Linked DNA regions of Homo sapiens: region 2 is linked to region 1. Evidence: promoter capture Hi-C in human tissues and cell types (Jung and others, 2019). All regions are on one chromosome and are shown on one strand. Each heading gives the region's core, a stretch centred on a gene start or on the middle of the fragment in contact. The rest is flanking DNA. Distances are from core to core; before and after follow the strand shown.

Region 1 (6,423 bases), core at 2,116-4,615:
GCACTTTGGGAGGCCGAGGCAGGTGGATCAGGAGGTCAGGAGATCGAGACCATCCTGGCTAACATGGTGAAACCCTGTCTTTGCTAAAAATACAAAAATTAGCTGGGCATGGTGATGGGCGCCTGTAGTCCCAGCTACTGGGGAGGCTGAGGCAGGAAAATGGCGTGAACCCGGGAGGCGGAGCCTGCAGTGAGCTGAGATTGTGCCACTGCACTCCAGCCTGGGCGACAGAGTGAGACTCCATCTCAAAAATAAAAATAAATAAATAAAGAAAGAAAATTTGGAAAGTAAAAAGGCAAAAACAAAACAAAACAAAACAAAAAACCACCTACAATTTCCCCCTCTCTTTCCATATGAGAGTGTTAGTACCTTTGAGGGTTAATAGTGGGCTCTTTCATCTTTTAAAAACTTATTTAAAGAAAAAATTATTGCAAAAGCAACACGTTTTGCTAGAGAAAAAGTAGAGAGTATTGACAAAACAAAAGCAATGAAATATTTAAGATCCACCTGGATGTACCGCAAAATGTTAATAAGGGAAACTGTCCCCATGACTGGGGACATGGATATAGGATGGGGACATATGAAACTCTCTGTGCTAATTGCTTATGTTTTCTATAAATGGAAAACTACTAAAACAAAAAATCCTGCTAATTAAATTGTATTTTAAAAACCCACCTGGAATCTTTCAGGGATGAGCATTGATAATGCTGTTGTGTTCATTCTTGAATTAGGGAAAACTATGAATATTCATATCATAGAAGTAGGACTTTTAATAGCTAACCTTTTCTTTCTTTTTTTTTTTTTTTTGAAACAGAGTCTCGCACTGTTGCCTGGGCTAGAGTGCAATGGCATGATCTCGGCTCACTGCAACCTCCGCCTCCCGGGTTCAAGCAATTCTCCTGCCTTAACCTCCTGAGTAGCTGAGATTACCAGTGCCTGCCACCATGCGTGGCTAAGTTTTTGTATTTTTAGTAGAGACAGGATTTCACTATGTTGGCCAGGCTGGTCTCGAACTCCTGACCCGTGATCTGCCCGCATTGGCCTCCCAAAGTGCTGGGATTACAGGCGTGAGCCACTGCGCCCGGCCGTGCCCGGGTGATTTTAATATATTTTTGTATTTTTGTTTTTTAGTAGAGATGGGGTTTCACCATGTTGGCCAGGCTGATCTCGAATGCCTGACCTCAAGTGATCCGCCCACCTCGGCCTCCCAAAGTGTCAGGATTAGAGGTGTGAGCCACCGCGCCCGGCCTCCTTGGTCTTCTCTTGTACCCTGTGTAGTAGTGGGGTTGAGAAGAGGGTGTGGAGTTTGAAAGGGGGATGTCTAGCAAAGCAGATGGGAGATGGTGGGACCCACACTGATGCCATAATTGGTGTGTCAGGGTGTTTATCCTTCTTCCATGCAAGAAGCCTTTATTGAGTGCCAACTTGTGCCATGCTATGTACGAAGCATCATTTTAGATGTAGAAGAGACAGCAGGAAGCAAAGCACACCAGGCCTGTTGGCTGGAGAATGCTATTTCCTCTCCAAATGTGCAATGCAGCAATTACTAATGACATGCTTCTTTTCTTGAGGAACTTCTCTGGTGCATGAGATAAGTCACACTTCTTGGTTTGAGATCCACCTCAGACACTGGGATATTTGGTGGCTCCATCCTGTGTGACAGCAAACACAAAAGGCATCCACTTGCTGGCAGTTAGCACTAACTTAAAAAAACAAACAAATAAAACAAAATAAAAGGGCCAAGCGCAGTGGCCCGTGGGAGCAGGGAAAGGCTTCTGGTGAGAGTTGGAAAGGTGGACTGGGCCGGATGCTCTTCCTTCATCCCAATTAAATCTCTATGGCATTTAGCAAATGCCAAGGAAGAGCCCAGCACTTTGGGAGGCCGAGGTGGACAGATCACATGAGGCCAGGAGTTCAAGACCAGTCTGGCCAACATGGTGAAACCCCATCTCTACTAAAACTACAAAAATTAGCCAGGCACATGTATAACCCCAGCTACCCGGGTAGCTGAGGCAGGAGAATTGCTTCAACCTGGGAGGCAGAGATTGCAGTGAGCTGAGATTTTGCCACTGCACTCCAGCCTGGGCGACAGAGGGAGATTCTGTTTCAAAAAGAAAAAAAAGAAACGGCGTCCAACATGATCAGTCATTAGATGTAACTATGTAAAAGTCAGCTTTAGATTAGTTTATATGGTATTATTACAATTTCAGGCTCTTTAGTTACATATTGATTTTTAAACTCCCTCACTTTGTTCCTTCCCTCTGTTTTTTTTTTCCTGCTCTCATAACTTTATCAGGCCTTTGAAAAGTTCATGGGTCCCAGACACTGTGTGGGAGGGTGTGGAAGTGAGTGTGGATGTGGGCTGCGGTGGAGATAGGTGTGTGTGTGAGACCGTGAATCACAGTGACAGGTAATGCAGGGTGACTGTCTGAGGCCTGAGAGTGGGGCCCATGTGCAAGCCCAAGAAAGTGGCTGGTGTGAGAATGAGGGTGTTCAGACTATTGAAGGGTGTTTGGATGAAAGAGGCAGGTGCGTGTGTGTCATGGTGAGTTCCCAGAATCCAGATAGAGAATGAGGGTGAGGATGGTGAAGGTCAGAGGGTGAAGGAGTCTGATAAGCTGAGGGTCCCTGTGTGACTGTGATTTCTGCAGGCACATGGGTGTGAGGCTTGAGAAACTGGGTGCATGGATGATGGTGACCAACAGGAGGGTGAGAGTGTTATGTGTGTGTGCAGGACTCACATGTGATTGTGAATGTTAGATGTTGCAGGCAGTGAGCAGTGGCAGGTGTGTGTGTAGGGCCTGGGCGTGAATATGCACGTTGGTGCAAGAGTGAGTGAGAATGACTGACTGATGGGGTGAGCGTGGCCGGGTGCCCGTGTGATTGTGCATGTCAGATATTGGTGGGGATGAGTGTCACAGCGCGCGTGTATAGGGCTGGGATGTGATTGTGAATGTGGGATTTTGCGGGGGGTGCGGTGGCAGGGTGCGCGCACGGCGGGCGTGGGCGGGGGGCGCGTGGCCGGGTGGGCGCGCGTGGGGGGCGCGGGCGCGGGCCGGGGGCGGGGACACTGCAGCGGTCGCGGCGGCGCGGACACGGCCCGGCCGCCCCCCGTGGCAGGCGCGGCGCGGCGCGGAGCGAGCGGGCGCAGCGCGGAGCTCGGGCCCATGGTGCGCCCGTGTCCGTCGGTCGGGCCGCGCGGGCGCTCCGCGCGTGGCCCGGCGCTCGCGAGCTCGCCCCCTCGCTGCGGGCCCGGCCCGCCCGCTGCCGCCGCCTCCTCCCCCGGGGCGGCGCGGCGCCGGCGGGCGGCGGCGCGGAGGCCGGACCGGGCGGCGGCCCAGGCGGCGCGGGGGGCGCGGCGGCCAAGGCGGGCGGCGCCGCCGACATGACGGACAACATCCCGCTGCAGCCGGTGCGCCAGAAGAAGCGGATGGACAGCAGGCCCCGCGCCGGGTGAGTGGGCCTGGGCCCGTGTTTTCCTTTGTCCGCGCCTCCCGGAGCCCGGCGCTCGGGCCAGCCTGGCCGGGCCTGACAGGTTGGCCGCGCGCCGCGCCCGGCGCCATGAGCCTGGGGCAGGGCTGGGGAGGCGGGGAGGTGGGGAGGGGGTCCCTGCGCTTCAGCCCCGGGCGGCACCTAGCCTGATGCCGGCCCTTTGGGGTTCGAGCGCCCGGTTGCCTGGGCCTCCTTGCCCACCTTCCTTTAGAAACCCCGAGAAGCCGGGCCCGCCCCAGTGCTGTTTACACACTCGCGGAATTCGGATCAGCCGTGCTTTCTCACCGTTTTATTGTTCCGTAATTAATATCTGTCCGTAATTAATATCTGAGGTAACAATTTGGTCAGTGTCACACCGAGCTCTGCGCTTGGAGCATTACTCGGGAGCCCAGATATGCTCAGCTTTTAGGGGGGCGCGGCCTACGCCTCGGGGTACCCCATCAGCGCCCCTGGGTCCCAGCCCCAGGAGGCTGCGCCGAGACCACCTGCGCTCCGGTGGCCCCTTCCCCCTCCGCCCGGGGTGGACCCGAACCAGCAGTCGCAGGAGGGTGGGAGGGTCTCCTACTGGCCGCTTGGTGACACTACCCCTTGTGTTCTCCCCCCACAATTTCGGGGAAGGAATCCCACGGCTGGGACAGGGGCTGCCACCTGCTGTGCCCTTCCCGCAGTAGGAGACCCCGAGGGCAGCTTAGGCGCGGAACAGGCAAGGGTTTTTCTGCATTTGGGAAGAGGGGACGGGTTGGTATTTTGCGCCTCGCCGTCTTCCTGTTCGGAGGATGGCAGCGTGACGCGTTGAGGTTTGCGGGGCTCTCGTATCGCCTGCCATAGACTTACCTGGGCGTGAGGGGCGGGGGTGGGAAGGACGGGGGTGGGCGCTGGTGCAAATGCAGATTTCCCGGCCCCCGCCTAGACCCGCCAATCAGAGTTCTGGGGGGCGGGGCCTGGAGATGTGCAGCTCCACAGGCCGCGCAGGTGAGGCTGGAGCCCGCGGGAGGCTGAGCGCGGTGTTGGGCGGGGCCTGCGGCCGCTCTGCTCCGCCCTTCCTCGGGCGTCTGGTCCTCTCTGGGCATTTCCCGGTGGCGGCCGCTTATTGCAGCGTCAGTTGCTCGGAACAGGAGACGCGGCGGGTGGAGTGAACCATAAGGGTGGCTTCACCAGGTGTCAGTGGAATTAAAAAAAAAAAAAAAAAGAATGGTGCTGGCGGCCATTTTGTGGGGTCTTTGTCCCTGGCTTCCTGAATCCTCCGAAGAAGAGGCCTCACTGATATTACCCAGAGGAGGAAACTGGAGGTTACGGAGGTTAAGGGCTATAGGGAAGACTGCAAAATGGAGATTGAACTCCGGATTGTCTGACCCAAAGATAGTTCCCTCACTCCTCCCTTCTCTGTTTTGCGTTTATTATTATTAGTATTATTATTATTATTGAGACGGAGTCTCCCTCTGTTGCCCACGCTGGAGTGCTGTGGCGAGATCTCGGCTCACTGCAACCTCCGCCTCCCGGGTTCAAGCAATTCTCTGCCTCAACCTCCCGAGTAGCTGGGATTACAGGCGCCCGACACCACGCCTGACTAGTTTTTGTATTTTTAGTAGAGACGGGGGTTTCACCATCTTGGCCAGGCTTGTCTTGAACTCCTGACCTCGTGATCCACCCACCTCGGCCTTCCAAAGTGCTGGGATTACAGGCGTGAGTCACCGCGCCCGGCCTCCTTCGTTTTAATGATGACAATTGACTTGAACACTATGCCTGGAACAGTGCCTGGTACATCGTACATCCTCCGTAAATACTGTGATGAATTAATATGATCAGTGGAGTCTAAAATCCAGTGGTTATTAATTTGTGCCATGAGCAATTATGAGACGCCTACTATGTGCAGGAGCCACTCCAGCTGATGGGGATGCAAGGATGAATTAAAGAAGACCTGCCCAACAGGTGTGGGTGTCCTGACCCTGGCTGTTCATTGCAATCACCAGGGAAACTTAACTAGCCTTTTCTGATTCATTCTAGACCTTTGAAATAAGAATTTAGGGTGGGACCTGGGTTTCTATCTATATATTTTAATAAGCTCCCCTGATGATTTTAACATGCAGTCAGAGTTGAGAACTTTTGAGTCAGTACATGAAAGAAAAATGCAAATATTGTTCAAAAGTGATCATTAGCGTGATAGAAACATGAGCCGTTCATATGGAGAGCCAGAGGGAGTGGTGCAGATAATTTTATTTAAAAGTAAGTTTTCTAGGTTGCGTTGGAATGGAGCATCACAGCCCCTTTAGAATTTACCAGCTTTGGAACTAATCTTTCTTTTTTTTTGAGACGATGTAGTTTCACTCTTGTTGCCTGGAGTGCAATGCCTTGGTCTTGGCCCACTGCAACCTCTGCCTCCTGGGTTCAAGCGATTCTTCTGCCTCAGCTTCCCAAGTAGCTGGGATTACAGGTGCCCACTACCACTCCCGGCTAATCTTTGTATTTTTAGTAGAGAGAGTTGTTTCACCATGTTGGCCAGGCTGGTCTTGAACTCCTGACCTCAGGTGATCCACCTGCCTTGGCCTCCGAAAGTGCTGGGATTACAGACGTGAGCCACCGTGCTTGGCCTGGAACTAATCTAATTCTGTTTTTTTTTTTTGAGATGTAGCTTCACTCTTGTTGCCAAGGCTGGCACGATCTCGGCTCACTGCAACGTCCGCATTCCAGGTTCAAGCGATTCTCCTTGAATCAGCCTCCTGAGTAGCTGGGATTACAGGCATGCACCATGCCCGGCAAATTTTGTATTTTTAGTACAGATGGGGTTTCTCCATGTTGGTCAGGCTGGTCTCGAACTCCTTACCTCAGGTGATCCACCCACCTTGGCCTCCCAAAGTGCTGTGATTACAGATGTGAGCCACTGTGTCTGGCCAATCTATTTCTTAAACAGTGACATGGATTTGGATTCAAATT
Region 2 (6,423 bases), core at 1,565-4,064, 360 kb before region 1:
AAACAGCTTTTTTTCATTGACCTTTTGTATTATGTTTTCATTTCAATTTCATCTATTTCTGCTCTGATCTTTCTTATTTCTTCTACTAATTTTGGGTTTGGTTTGTTTTTGCTTTTCTAGTTCTTTAAGATCCATCATTAGATTGTTTATTTGAAGTTTTTTCTCCTTTTTATGTAAACTCTTATAGTTATAAACTTTCCTTTTAATGCTGCTTTTGCTGTATTCCACAGATTTGGGTATGTTGTATTTCCATTATCATTTGTCTCAGAAATTTTAAATTTTCTTCTTAATTTCTTCATTGACCCATTGGTCATTCAGGAGCATGTTGTTTAATTTCCAGGTATTTGTATAGTTTCCAAAATTCCTCTTGTTATTAATTTCTAGTTTTGTCCCATTGTGGTCAGAGAAGATGATTGATATTACATCAGTTTTTTTTCAACATTTTAAGACTTGTTTTGTGACCTAACATATGGTCTATACTTGAGAATGATCCATGTGCTGAGGAAAAGAATGTGTATTCTGCAGCCATAGGATGAAATGTTCTGTAAATATCTACTAGATCCATTTAGTCTATAGTGCAGATTAAGTCCGATGTTTCTTTGTTGATTTTCTGTCGGGAAGATCTGGCAAATGCTGAAAGTGGGGTGTTGAAGTCTCCAGCTATTATTGTATTAGGGCCTAACTCTCTCTTTAGCTGTAATAATGTTTCTTTTATATATCTGGGTGCTCCAGAGTTGGATGCATATATATTTAAAACTGCGATATCTTTTTGCTGAATTCACCCCTTTATAAACATTATATATAGTGACCTGCTTTTCTTATAGTTTTTGTCTTGAAATGTATTTTGTCTGATTTAAGTATAGCTACCCCTGCTCTTTTTTGGTTTCCATTGGCATAGAATATCTTTTTCATCCCTTTATTTTTAGCCTATGTGTGTTTAGGGGAAGTGTGTTTCTTGTAGGCAGCAGATCAGTGGGTCTTGTTTTTTAATCTATTCAACCATTCCATGTCTTTTGATTGGAGACTTTAGTTCATTTACATTCAATGTTATATTATTGTTAAGTAAGGACTTGCTCCTGCCATTTTATTTGTTTTCTGCTTGTTTTGTGGCCTGCTTTTCTTTCTTCTTTTCTTGCTTTCTTTCTTTTCTTTCTTCTCTCTCTTTTCCTTTTTCTTTTTCTTCCTTCCTTCCCGTCCTTCCTTCTTTTCCTTTCTTCTTTTTCTTCTTTCCTTTCCTTCCCTCCTCCCTTTCTTTTCTTTCCTTCCCTCCTTTCCTTCCTTCCTGTTTTCCTTTCTTCCTGTCTTCCTCCCTTCCTTTAATGAAGATGAGAATCTGTATTTTATTTTATTATTATTCTTATTTTTGAGACAGAGTCTTGCTCTGTCGCCCAGGCTGGAGTGCAGTGGCCCAATCTTGGCTCACTGCAAGCTCTGCCTCCCAGGTTCACGCCATACTCCTGCTTCAGCCTCCTGAGTAGCTGGGACTACAGGCGCCCGCCACAATGCCTGGCTAATTTTTTGTATTTTTAGTAGAGATGGTGTTTCACCAGGATGGTCTCAATCTCCTGAGCTCGTGATCTACCCGCCTCAGCCTCCCAAAGTGCTGAGATTACAGGCATGAGCCACCACACTGGGCCGAGAATCTGTATTTTAAATTTGGCACCCTGGAGAGTGTTCTGATCTGAGTAATGTGGAAAATACTAAGATAAACAACTAGGGGCTAGAGATTGCAAGAGCCTGCCTGGTGTCACATGGCCATCAGCCCTAAGAAGTTTGATAAATGTTTCCTGAACACCTACTATAGGCTAGATGTTGTTCTGGAAACATGTGAAGTTTCCATGAGCAAAAAGGAAATGATCGTGACCTTATGGAATCTGCCTTCTCATAAGAGAAAACAGATAAATAATAAGCAGAATGGACGGGGTGCAGTGGCTCATATCTGTAATCCCAGCACTTTGGGAGGCCGAGGCAGGAGCATCGCTTGAGGCTAGGAGTTCAAGACCAGAGTGGACAACATAAGGAGACCCCCTCTCTACAAAAAATAAAAAGATTAGTCGGGTATGGTGGAACATTCCTGTAGTCTCAGCTACTTTGGAGGCTGAGGTGGGAGGATCACTTGAGCCTGGGCACTTGAGGCTGCAGTGAGCCATGATTGTGCCACTGCACTCCAGCCTAGGTGATAGAGCAAGATCCTGCCAAAAACAAACAAACAAACAAAACACAATTGTAGGCACCATATACAGTGTCTTAGAAGCTGGTAAGTGCCATGGCAGGGTGGAGGGACTGAGTATGATGAGGGAGAGGAGCCTGCGGGTCAGAGTAGTTCTCCCTAAGAAGTTGAGATTGGAACAAAGACTGGAATGAGGGAGTGAGGGAGCCATGTGGATCTCGAGAGGAACAGAGTTCCAGGCAAAGGGAATGCAAAAACCTTAAAGCAGGAACGTGGCCAGGGAAGAGTGAGCAAGGGAAAGAGGAGCAGGCAGCAGGAGTTTTTTGTGTGTCTGACATGTTTTATTATAATAATAAACAATAATGACGATTGCACTCATTCAGCAAAGATGAATTGCCCCGGGGCATACCATGGTGGTGACACAGGGCAGGCAGGATCCCTGCCCCCTGGGAGATTACAGTCTAGTTAGGCAGACAGGCGAGTTGTCACAACACATATGTGCTTTAATGGGATACAGAGGCACCATGAGGAACAGAAGCAGGCACCATGAGGAGCATCTGGGAACAGGCCTTCCCAGATTTAGGTCCAAGAGGCTGAAATGGGCCAGGGCCGGGGTGACCAGCACCTGAGCTGAGTCAAAATGCTACATAGGAGTTACACAATTGAAGACAAAGAACGGAGGAGTGAGGGAAATGAGCATTCTAAGGTGCACTGGACGTTAGGGCAGTCTGGAAAGACAGAGGGTATTTGTAATTGGAACATTTTTGCTAGAAGGAAAAAGGCAAATAAAAAAGGCTGGAGCGGCTGGGTACGGTGGCTCACACCTGTAATCCTAGCATTTTGGGAGGCCCAGGCAGGCAGACTGCCTGAGCTCAGGAGTTAAGAGACCAGCCTGGGCAACATAGCAAAACCCCATCTCTACTAAAAATACAAAAAAATTCCACCCTGGCTAACACGGTGAAACCCCATCTCTACTAAAAATACAAAAAAAAAAAGAAAAAAAGAAAAAAAATTCACCGGGCGTGGTGGTGGGCGCCTGTAGTCCCAGCTACTTGGGAAGCTGAGGCGGGAGAACGGCGTGAACCCGGGAGGCGGAGCTTGCAGTGAGCCGAGATCGCGCCACTGCTCTCCAGCCTGGGCAACAGAGCGAGACTCCATCTCAAGAAAAAAAAAAAAAAAATTAGCCAGGAGTGGTGGTGCGCGCCTGTAATCCCAACTACTCGGGAGGCTGAGGCAGGAAAATGGCTTGAACCTGGGAGGCGGAGGTAGCAGTGAGCCCAGATCGTGCCACTGCACTCCAGCCTGGGTGACAGAATGAGACTCCGTCTCAGAAAAAGAAAGAAAATTTAAAAAAAGGTCGGAGCTCCTTGTGGAGTGTTAGCTTCTGGAAATTTTGTTCATTTCTGGAAAAGAAATGCCACAGTTATACCATGTATATAAGACGATCGTGTAGTTTATCATCCAAGCTGGGGCACTTTTGAAAGTGGTAAAGACTGTGGGAGACCAGGTGGAAATCAGCCCTTGTTACTGACGGAAGACCAAGCTCAGAAGCTTTAGTAAAATGGTGACTAATGCTGCCCTCCAGTGGTGGAGTGCAGCAACTCAACACAAGGCAGTATAGAATTTCACCTCCCTCAGGTCAGTTTTCCAAGAATAACAAGTTAGGTGCCACAAAGCAGATCAGTTTGCTTTTTCCACCTAGCAGTTTAGGTATACATTTATTAATACTGTAAATGTGTCCATCTTTATCAATCTGTTCTCATCCCAGCTGTATGATTTTATTCCTGTTTTCAGGTTAGTTGCTATGGTAGGCTAGATAATGGTCTCAAATTCTGTCCTTTCTCCAGCTACAGAATATTTACCCACCTTGTCCATTGACATTATGGTGGGTGGGGCACCACCATAATGGGGCAAAGCCATTTGACTTGCTTTGGCCAATGGAATATCAGTGGACCTGATGGGAACAGGGGTATTATTATTATTATTTATAGAGAGAGTCTTGCTATGTTGCCCAGGCTGGTCTCAAACTCTTGGCCTCAAACAATCCTCCTGCCTTGGCCTCCCAAAGTGCTGTGATTAGAGGCGTGAGCCACCACATCTAGTCCAGGAACAGGGGCTTTCAATGTGGCTGTAGAATTTGACACAACCTCTTGCTCTGGAGTGATCTGCCTTAGAACAGATTCTGAGTAACTGATGGCCTAAACAGAAATGAACAGACACATGGAACACACCTCAATCCAAACCACAGCCCAGAGCCAAGCTCCACAGAGCCACAGTGAACCCACAGACCCGGGAAAAAAATAAATAAACATTTGTGTGGAAAACCACTGAGATTTTGAGGTCGTTGTATAGCAAAAACTGTCTTACACAGTAGTAGACTACCAGTGAATATCCTCAACTTATTATTTCCTACTGAGTTGCTGTAGACAGTGTTCAATATCTGGATAAGTGAAAATCACGTTTTCACTACAATACTGCTTTAAAGTCACTCTCAACACAAGTATGGTGAAAAAAAGGATTTGTCTTTGTAAAATTTCTTCCCATCCTGTCTTCTTGTCTTGCTTCCTGTATTAATCCATTTTCATACTGCTGTAAAGAATTGTGTGAGACTGAGTAATTTATAATGGAAAAAGGTTTAATCAACTCACAGTTCAGCATGGCTGGGGAGGCCTCAGGAAAGTTACAGTCATGGCAGAAGGCAAAGGGGAAGCAAGGCACCTTCTTCACAAAGAGGCAGGAAAGAGAAGTGCCGAGTGAAAGGGGAAGAGCCCCTGATAAAACCGTCAGCTCTTGTGAGAACTCACTATCATGAGAACAGCAGCCGCCCCCATGATCCAATTACCTTTACCTGGTCTCTCCCTTGACACGTGGGGATTATGGGAATCATAATTCAAGATGAGATTTGGGTGGGAACACAAAGCCTAACCATATCACTTCCTTTAAAAAAAAAAATCTTCCCTTTAAAAGAAAAAATTTCTAACCGTATCACTTCCTTTAAAAAAAAAATTCTGGGCCAGGCGTGGTGGCTCACAACTGTAATCCCAGCACTTTGGGAGGCCGAGGCCGGCGGATCATGAGGTCAGGAGATTGAGACCAGCCTGGCCAACATGGTGAAACCCCGTCTCTACTAAAAATACAAAAATTAGCTGGGTGTGGTGGCGCACGCCTGTAGTCCCAGCTACTCAGAAGGCTGAGGCAGGAGAATTGCTTGAACCTGGGAAGTGGAGGTTGCAGTGAGCTGAGATCACACCACTGCACTCCAGCCTAGTGACAGAGCAAGACTGTCTTAAAAAAAAAAAAAATTCTGACAAAGCCTAACCATATCACTTCCTTTAAAAAAAAAAAAAAAATTCTTTCCACTGACGGAAAACCTACCCATAAGAGTCCCCACCCAATTTGCCCACCACCTGTTTGCCTCCATATGGGTGTCTTTCATTAAAGGCACCATTTTCCCTATTGGCTCTAAGACTCAGCACCTCACAGGAGACGGTGCATAAAAGGCATAAGATGTTGGAGATGCCTAAGCTTTTATGAGACTTTACATAAAATCCTAAAGAGAATTCTATTCATTTTGTGCCAAATCTAAGTTACCATGTATCTCCAGAAGGAGAGTCAGACTTCAGATTAATTTGAAAGATTGATATGTTGAATGCTCAATGAGAATTTAAATTTTTCTCAGTATTAAAATTTCTTGTACCCAACCAACAGTCATCTTTATAGGGCATCTTTCAACCTAGTCTGGTGTAGAAAGCATAGACGCACCCAGATTACCTTTAAGCAGGCAGGTGCTGTCATTCAAAGACCTTTTAAGCCTGAGTTGTAGTTTTAAACAGGCCCATGAAGAACTAGAATGATTGACAGTAGAGGGTAATGGTTAAGCAAAGGGTTCTGAAGTCAGAAAGAACTGGGTTGAAATTCCAGCTCCACATCTTCCCAGGTGTCTGACCCAGATGCGTGAAATAACTTCCCGAATTTCAGTTTCTTCTTCTCTATAATGGGGATAGTAAAAGTACCTACCTTATAATGTTGTAGGGAAGAATTAAATAAAACAATACGTGTTGTGGGCCGGGCACGCTGGTTCATGCCTGAAATCCCAGCACTTTGGGAGGCCGAGGCAGGCGCATCACCTGAGGTCAAGAGTTCGAGACCAGCCTGGCCAACATGGTAAAACGCCATCTCTACTAAAAATACAAAAATTAGACAGGTGTGGCAGGTGTCTGTAATCCCAGCTACTCAGAACGCTAACACAGGAG

The links. Contacts are between HindIII fragments. The study calls those that stand out against the background at their distance.
Region 2: a contact is called between a fragment that was not itself captured here and the fragment with the promoter of ATP9A in region 1, in 1 of the 25 tissues and cell types used here (heart right ventricle).

The regions. Positions count from the first base shown.
Region 1 is chr20:51,765,332-51,771,754 of GRCh38, reverse strand. It overlaps ATP9A (ATPase phospholipid transporting 9A (putative)), which reads left to right and starts at 3,365. Exons shown (of 28, transcript NM_006045.3): 1 at 3,365-3,453. The coding sequence starts at 3,386. The HindIII fragment of the contact is 32,964 bases long and covers 1-6,423 here.
Region 2 is chr20:52,126,008-52,132,430 of GRCh38, reverse strand. It overlaps a transcript of ZFP64 not described here. Among named protein-coding and RNA genes, the nearest start is that of ZFP64, 63 kb to the left of the region's middle. The HindIII fragment of the contact is 3,788 bases long and covers 921-4,708 here.